Linked DNA regions of Homo sapiens: region 1 is linked to region 2. The links are contacts of gene promoters, found by promoter capture Hi-C in blood cells and fetal thymus (Javierre and others, 2016). All regions are on one chromosome and are shown on one strand. Each heading gives the region's core, a stretch centred on a gene start or on the middle of the fragment in contact. The rest is flanking DNA. Distances are from core to core; before and after follow the strand shown.

Region 1 (3,589 bases), core at 635-3,134, 82 kb after region 2:
TTCAGCAACAAGGCTGGCTTGGTGCCCTCCAAGCATCTAATGGCTTATTAAATTATCCCACAAGTGGGTTTTAGGCTCCTTTTTTGAGCCAAAATGGAAGCTGGGAATCTGGTGCCATAACTAATGAGAAACTCCTTTAATAGCCCACAATCAGTGTTCTGTTCTAGCTGGCTACTGCTTCACTGGATTGAGAATCTATCTATCTCCTTGCACACATGGGCACACACAATCTCCACCATCCAGGGAGGTCCTGAAGTCAAATCTCTATCTATACAAGTGATACAATTCATAGGGGGCTGGCTCCTCCCAGAACCTGTCTGGAGGCTCAGAAACGGGGGCAGTGACAGTGGAGTCAGCTGCTCTTGGGTGCCAGCAGAGCCATTCAGTACAACCCCCAGGCTCACAGCAGTGGCTTCTAGGAAACTGGGAGTTTAGATCAGCTTTACAGATACATCGATCAGAGGCTAAAATGAAACCTCAGCCTAAAACTCATAGGACTGACTGCCTGGGAGGAGGGTTAGGTCTGCTTCTTCCACTTATACTTAGTCTCTGTGCTCCAAGAGGTCAAATTTTTGCTTCTAGAATTTCCTTGGGGTCTTTCAGAGGGTGGGGGAACAAACCCCTATGCACTTTTCTTTTTTTTTTTTTTGAGATGGAGTTTCTCTTGTCAACCGGGCTGGAGTGCAGTGGTGCAATCTTGGCTCACTGCAACCTCCACCTTCCTGGTTCAAGCGATTCTGCCTCGACCTCTCAAGTAGCTGGGATTACAAGCACCAGCCACCATGCCTGGCTAATTTTGTATTTTTAGTAGAGACAGGGTTTCACCATGTTGGCCAGGCTGGTCTCGAATGTCTGACCTCAGGTGATCCACCCGCCTTGGCCTCCCAAAGTGCTGGGATTACAGGCGCGAGCCACCGCGCCCAGCCTACACCACTTTTAGTACCAACACTCTTGGGTGATTTCATGGACCCTAAAGCAGACCTGACACTGATCCAGATTTGCAGTCCATTTTTAAGGACACCTGTCTTTATTTCCTCAAAGTCAAGCAGCTTTCTCTGGAAAATGAATGCTAATTAGTGTGAACCAAAAGAGTAAGTAAGAGTCTGAAGTTTTTTTAAAGGAGAAAGCTTATTATGGAAAGTCACTGGTCCTCCCCTCCGCACAGGAAAGGTACCCAGTAGATAATGAACCAAATTAAGTTCCCTCCCTCCAGCCAGAAGTTAAACATCTGGGATATGACGTCTTCATGCCAGGGGCACTCATTTCTTAGCAGCCTCTCTACATACATCTCTCAGGTGGTGCCAAGAGGCACACCAGGTAGAGCAAACTTAGCAGCTCTGACTAACAGGCTGCAAAGTGCAAGTTCAGATTCTGTGGCAGAGATTTGGAAGGCACCCACCTCCAGACTGCTTCCCGTCCAAGTTACCAGGACAGCTCAAAAACATGCTGACAGAAAACTCCCATGGCTCTAGGAAGAAGTGACACTAAGCCAACACCTTTCTTTATGTGGGAGCAGAATCAGCTGATGAAGGGGTGGGCAGCAGTGTGGGGCAGGCACCCCACTGGCTGCAGCTAGCCCACCATAGGCACAGCACATCCCACCACTCTCCTTCCAGTCCTGACCAGGCCCCAGCCGGCAACTTCTACCGAGAGCCATGGCTCAACACCAAACTGGACAGTAGACATCATGATCCCTCCAGTTAGCTCTAATTACAGACCCCACCAGTACAGCTTGACAGCTCCCGGCACCATCCCTTCCTTCATCTGACTTATTGAACTTTTACAAACTAACAGTCACCAGCACCAAAGAATTAAGTCAACTAACCTGCCTTGAATTTTAGACCAGCAATCCATATGGCTTTATCTGGTATAAATCTTCTGCCTTTGATCATTTCTGGACCGTAGGAAAAAGGAATAGCAATCATTAAAATCTTGGGCCAGAGAACACTATTTTTACATAACAGTTTCTTAACCTAAAGTCAAGGCCTTGGACTCTTCCCTGAGGGTTGCCTGAGATTCCTTCATGCTTTCTATTCAGGACTAAGTCCCTTACTGCAAATGTGTTAGCTCTAACATCTCCCACAAGCTAGAGGAACTTGCGAGTATATTAACAAGGACACATCTGACATCCTGTGTTTGGTTAGAATATACAGCACATTGTGATAACATAAAGTGGATTCATCTTGTATCATTATAGGCAGAAGGTATTTGGCAAATTTTTATGTATTGTTTTATGTACTGTACAAGTAACTTATTCTTGAATAATGCAAATTTTGCTATAATGTACAAATTGCTATATGTGAATTAAAAAGTTTTCAGAATCTTGATTTGCTGTCATAATATTTAAAGGCTCTATTAAGACCATGGTGTCTCTACAAAATCCTTGCCCTGCCCAAATACTCGCTCTTCCCTTTGTCCTCCCCGTTGCAATCTGGGAATACTAACAAATGCTTATGAGTCCATCCATGTCAATAAGCAGCTTTGTACATCTTTGTATCTTTTCAGCCTTCATGCCCTCTGGATTTCTTTATTGCAATTTTTTTCTGAGTGTCTCCTGCCCCCTACTGGTAAAGTAGAAAAATGCCCGAATTGGGAACTTCCAGCTAATGACACTCATTTTGGTTCAGGAGATATTAAAAAGGAAGCTTACAGAATCGGTGTCAGCCCGAGGATGTGGAATTTCAGTGCTGCCCAACTCTGGCCAACCTTCCTCCTCCTGAAGCAGATCTCTAATCCACCAAAGAGAATAGCTCAGTCTTGTCTTTTTCTAGAGATACCTTGAACCAGAACTAAGGGTGAAGAAGAAAAATCATTTCACAGCTACCTTCCGGGATATTCAAAATGCACCCTTAGCACACCTGCTTTGATATTAAGTATCCTACAAAGAAGTAGCTTATACAGACACACACTAACTTGATCAGTTTTTAAAACTTTTTTTATTTTTTAAATTTTTTTTAAGTTTTTATTTTATATTATCTACAAAGTAAAAGTTTTTCCCTTAACTTAAAAGTTGAACCACTGTAGACAGTGATCACCTCATCAAACTTGATTTATAAATAATAATCCGTCAGTTTGACGGTAAGAATTTACTGAAACTTTGTCAAGTTTAGTAAAAGGGCGTTCCAAGTCTTGATTTTTTTTTTTTTTTTTTTTTAGCAGTAATAGCAGCAAGAATCACTCTTGTTACTTCTTTTGCTAGCTGATGTGTTCATGACTTTCAAGGGTTATTAAAAAATAAATAACTTCCAGTTTCGGCAAGCAGAGCTGGGGTACCTGCGGGACTCTGAAACAGCATATGGAATTATGGAATAGCCCCCAAGTTCCTAAATGCCTCTACTCGGTCCAAGTATCTTCCACTGCAAGTGAACTGTTAGCATTCCTATTGGATGTTACAAGAAATCAACATATATATTTTAAAAACAAAATAAATGAAATTCTAGTTTTCTGTGCTTCCAGTTGGTAGAAGCAGTAGAAGGGAGGAGGGAATTTGGCCTTTCGGTTCCTCCAGGGCAGCCTTACAACTGCTGTTGGTGGTGGGCTTGTACTGTAAAAAGAAAAGCGAACATTGAAACAGAAAACTGGCAACACC
Region 2 (3,829 bases), core at 898-3,397:
GTCCTAGCTATCTGGGAGGCTAACATGGAAGGACCCCTTGAACTTGGGGGGTGACATAGTGAGATTCTGTCTCAAAAAAAAAAAAAAAAAAATCCAAGCCTCCCTTGGCTTCCAAGTTCCCTTTCCCTACCTCTTTCCCCCTTGTTCACTCAGCTCCAGCCATCCTGGCCTCCTTTCTGTTCCTCAAATACACCAGACACATCCCCACCTCCAAGACTTGGTCCCGGCTGTCTGCCTGCAGGTCTTCACAAGGCCAGCTCCCCATCCTTTGGTCTCAGCCTAGCTGTCACCTCCTCAGAGAGGTGGTCCCTGGCCACCCTATGCACAAGAGGCCCCCCAGTCCCTCTCCTGTGCCTCCACCTGAAATTAATACCTGGGTCATTTCTGCCTGCAGGGGCGTTTGTGGTCTGAATTCTAGTGCCTGGCATGCAGTAGGTACTCACACAGCTGTTTGATTCATTCTGCAGTATCTTCTGAAACCTTTCAACAGCCCCAAGACAAGGGATCTCACCCCACATTCACAGATGTGGAAATGGACACAGGGAGATTCAATAAGTTGGCTAGAGGCATACAACTGTGCCCAGAATCACATGCTCCAGGCAAGCCACCCAAATAAAGGGGCTGATCTTGGGGTCTCTCCACCCCATCAAGGCCAAAGGAATAGCAACTTCCCTCCTGCTCAGCAACCCTCCTCCCCCGACTGCCTAGATAGAGGCCAAACTGGTTCAAGGTCACCAGCAGGCACAGGACCCAGCTCTGCCCATGACCCCTGCCTCCACCAGAACTGGGAAGACAGGAAGCTGCAGGGGCACAGGCGCCAGCCTTGCCTGGAGCGAAGGCCTGGCCCCTGCCTTATCTCCCCACACTGTTTTCCAAGAAGTTCAGAGTCCACTGTGGGCACTGCTGCTGATTCAACAGCCCATGGCCAGACAGGAAGCTGGAGGGAGCCTGGCCCAGCTCTGCTCCCAAGGCAAAGTTCCTGCCTCCGCAGGTCCAGGCTGGAGGACCTTGGACAAGTCGTTTCACCTTTCCAAGTCTCAGTGTCCTCATCTGTTAAATTGGGCTGTGTGGCGAGGGTTCATGAGCTAAAAGAAGGAAAACCCACTGGCAAACTATGGGAAATGGATTGCAAATATTAGCTGCTGTGAGTCGGAGTTTTTTCTCAGCCTCATCTGCAAAATGGTGACGTTAACTTCCATCCCTCTAAGGGCTGAGTGAATTGACTCCTGAAGAGTCATTTTGCAAAATACTTGGTGGGTAGTGAGCTTTCAGGGAAAGAGCTGTCAAAAAGGCAAATAATTCATCCAAGATCTCCAGGGGCACAGCTGGCCCCGGAACCCAGGTCTCCTGGGAGACTGAAGCATGGCATTTTGGCACTCACATCAACGAAAAGAAGCCAGTACCGCAGGTCCTGGGGTTGAATCCAGCTGCCCTCAGTGTCCCCCAGCAGCGGGCGTGGGGAAGAGGGTGTGGCAGGCACAGGCTGAAAAACATGTGTGCCAAGAACACTAAAGAGCAGCCTGGCCGTCACCGCCCCAGCAGGGACCCCAGAGACACGCCAGCACCGCCGTCCAGACACAGGCAGCCCCCTTGTCCACGGCAGGGGCTGCTGCTCCAGGTGTGGCCCTGCTCCCGGCTGCTCTCTGTCCCTTTGTGTGTTGTGCGTGGGAGCTCTCTTAAGTTCCTTAAAGGACAGCCAGAGCCCCAGATGGGTGATCAGCGGCAGAATGGGGGGCTTATCCGCAGTCCCCACCAGCGGCAGACGTCCCTATGGGCTGAGAGAGGGGAGGGTGGTCATTGGCCAAGTTCGCCTCGGCAGCTGGAGAAGTCACCACTGGTGCGGAGTCCCAGCGGGGAAGATCCCCGCAACGCGCTCTCCAGGTGGCCGGGGGACCCCGAGGCCCAGGGCGGCCCGACCCGGGTCCCATGTCCTCGTGCATGTCCCCCCGCCAGGCCCGCCTTACCTCGCAGCGCAGGCCTAGGGCGGCGACGGGACGGGAGGCGCGAGGTTGCGGGGTGGCCCGGCCATGGTTCGGGACTGGCCCGGTGGCGGCGACGGCGGCGGCAGCGCTTTGTCTCCTGGGCGGCCGGGCCGGCGCAGCCGCGGGAGAGCGCGGATCCGACGGAAGGAGGCGGGAGCAACCGGACAGTCCGCGACCCACGGGCGCGCCCCTTTAACCCTTCCCAGCCTGCTCGCGCCGGGCCCGCCCCCGCGTTCTTCCCACCTCCCGATTGGCAGGCCCCGAACCGGCACGCCCCCGTGAGCCCGCCCTCGAAATCACTCTTAAAGGGTCCGCTCCTGGCTCGCGACTCCCCAGTTCCCTAGCCCAGAAAAGCGGATTGGAGCCCGGGAAGCTCATTGCGATTCCAAAGGTAAGGACTGGCCCAGGTCGTGGATTAGCCTGCAAAAGCATTTGGGGGTCCTGGGCGGGCCATTCGCTGAAGTCCTAGGCTTAAGTCCGAACTCCCCCCAGGACGAGGCAGGAGGATTGCCTGAGCCTAGTAGTTCAAGACCAGCCTGGGCAGCAGAGGGAGACCACCATCTCTACAAATAATAAAAATATTTGCTAAACCTGGGTTGCCAGGTTTAGCAAATTTAATGCCCAGTTAAATTAGAAAAATAGCTCTAATTCCTGAAAAATGTGTGAGTGGCAGAAAAAACAGCTGAATCCAGGACATTTGCGTACAGCACTGTTCCATACGGACAGGGCGCCTCGCAAGCTTCCCCTGGCTCCAGGTGAAGAGAGGAAGTTCTGGAATTAGGCAGACTTGAGTTCGAGTCGCACTAGGCCACTGAACACTGTGTGAGCTTAGAGAAATCATTTCACTTCTCTAAGCCTCCGTTTCCTCATCCGGAAAATAAAGACCATCATGATATGTAAAGTGCACGGCACAACAGAAAGCTCTCAAGAAATAGGAATTGCTGTTGTTTTTGCCCTGCCCACCTCCTTGAACCCTTCCTTCCTGTTCCTGCCGCCTCTTCTCCACCACCCGCCACCTCCCAATCACTATTAAGTCCTGGCCTGAAAGCAGGAAGAACAGGACAGACCAGGGTCAGCTCTCCATTGTACAGCCTCTCACTAAGCGCCTACTGTGTGCCAGGCACTGTACCTGAACCAGGTAAGCAGGTGCAGCCAGGAATCAAGACAACACAAATGAGTTCTGGAAGTGATTCATGCTAGGACTGTACGCTAAGGCAATGGGGCAGAAAGCCTGGGAGTGCAGTTTTTTTGTTTTTGTTTTTTGTTTTTTGTGTTTTTTTGTCACCCAGGTTGGGGTGCAGTGGCACAATCACAGCTCATTGTAACCTGAACTCCTGGGTTCAACCGAGCCTCCCACCTCAGCCTCCCAAGTAGTTGGGACTACAGGTGTGTACCACCACACCCGGCTAATTTTTTTTAATTTTTTGTAGAGATCGGGGGGGTCTTGCTATCTTGCCCAAGCTGGAAGTGCAGCTTTTAGACAAGGTGGTCAGGGAAGGCCTCTCTGAGGACAGACCTGGAGGAATGAGGGAGGGAGCCATGTGGTTATCTGGGAGAAGGAGGTCCCAGGCAGAGGGAACAGCAAGTGCAAAAGCCCTGAAATGGGGCCATCCTGGGCATGTTTGAAGAACAACGAGGAGACCAGTGGAGCCAAGTGAGCAATGGGAAGAATAGTAGGAAAATAGGTCAGCTGGCTGGGCGCAGTGGCTCACGCCTATAATCCCAGCACTTTGGGAGGCCGAGGCAGGTAGATCACTTGAGGTCAGGAGTTCGAGACCAGCCTAGCCAACATGGTGAAACCCGGTCTCTACTAAAAATACAAAAAAAAAAAAAAAAAAAAATTAGCC

Evidence for each region. Contacts are between HindIII fragments. The CHiCAGO score rates a contact against its expected background, and 5 or more counts as called.
Region 1: a fragment that was not itself captured here is called in contact with the fragment with the promoter of PHETA1 in region 2 in 4 of 17 cell types (megakaryocytes, M2 macrophages, M1 macrophages and 1 more); the score reaches 7.1 in megakaryocytes.

What each region holds. Positions count from the first base shown.
Region 1 is chr12:111,449,297-111,452,885 of GRCh38, forward strand. SH2B3 (SH2B adaptor protein 3) reads left to right here. Exons shown (of 8, transcript NM_005475.3): 8 at 1-2,327. ATXN2 (ataxin 2) reads right to left here. Exons shown (of 25, transcript NM_001372574.1): 25 at 2,918-3,544. The coding sequence ends at 3,516. Among named protein-coding and RNA genes, the nearest start is that of SH2B3, 45 kb to the left of the region's middle. The HindIII fragment of the contact is 1,518 bases long and covers 1,126-2,643 here.
Region 2 is chr12:111,366,948-111,370,776 of GRCh38, forward strand. PHETA1 (PH domain containing endocytic trafficking adaptor 1) reads right to left here and starts at 2,148. Exons shown (of 3, transcript NM_144671.6): 1 at 1,965-2,148. LINC02356 (long intergenic non-protein coding RNA 2356) reads left to right here and starts at 2,314. Exons shown (of 4, transcript NR_187522.1): 1 at 2,314-2,373. RefSeq lists a silencer at 1,739-2,318. The HindIII fragment of the contact is 8,438 bases long and covers 1-2,719 here.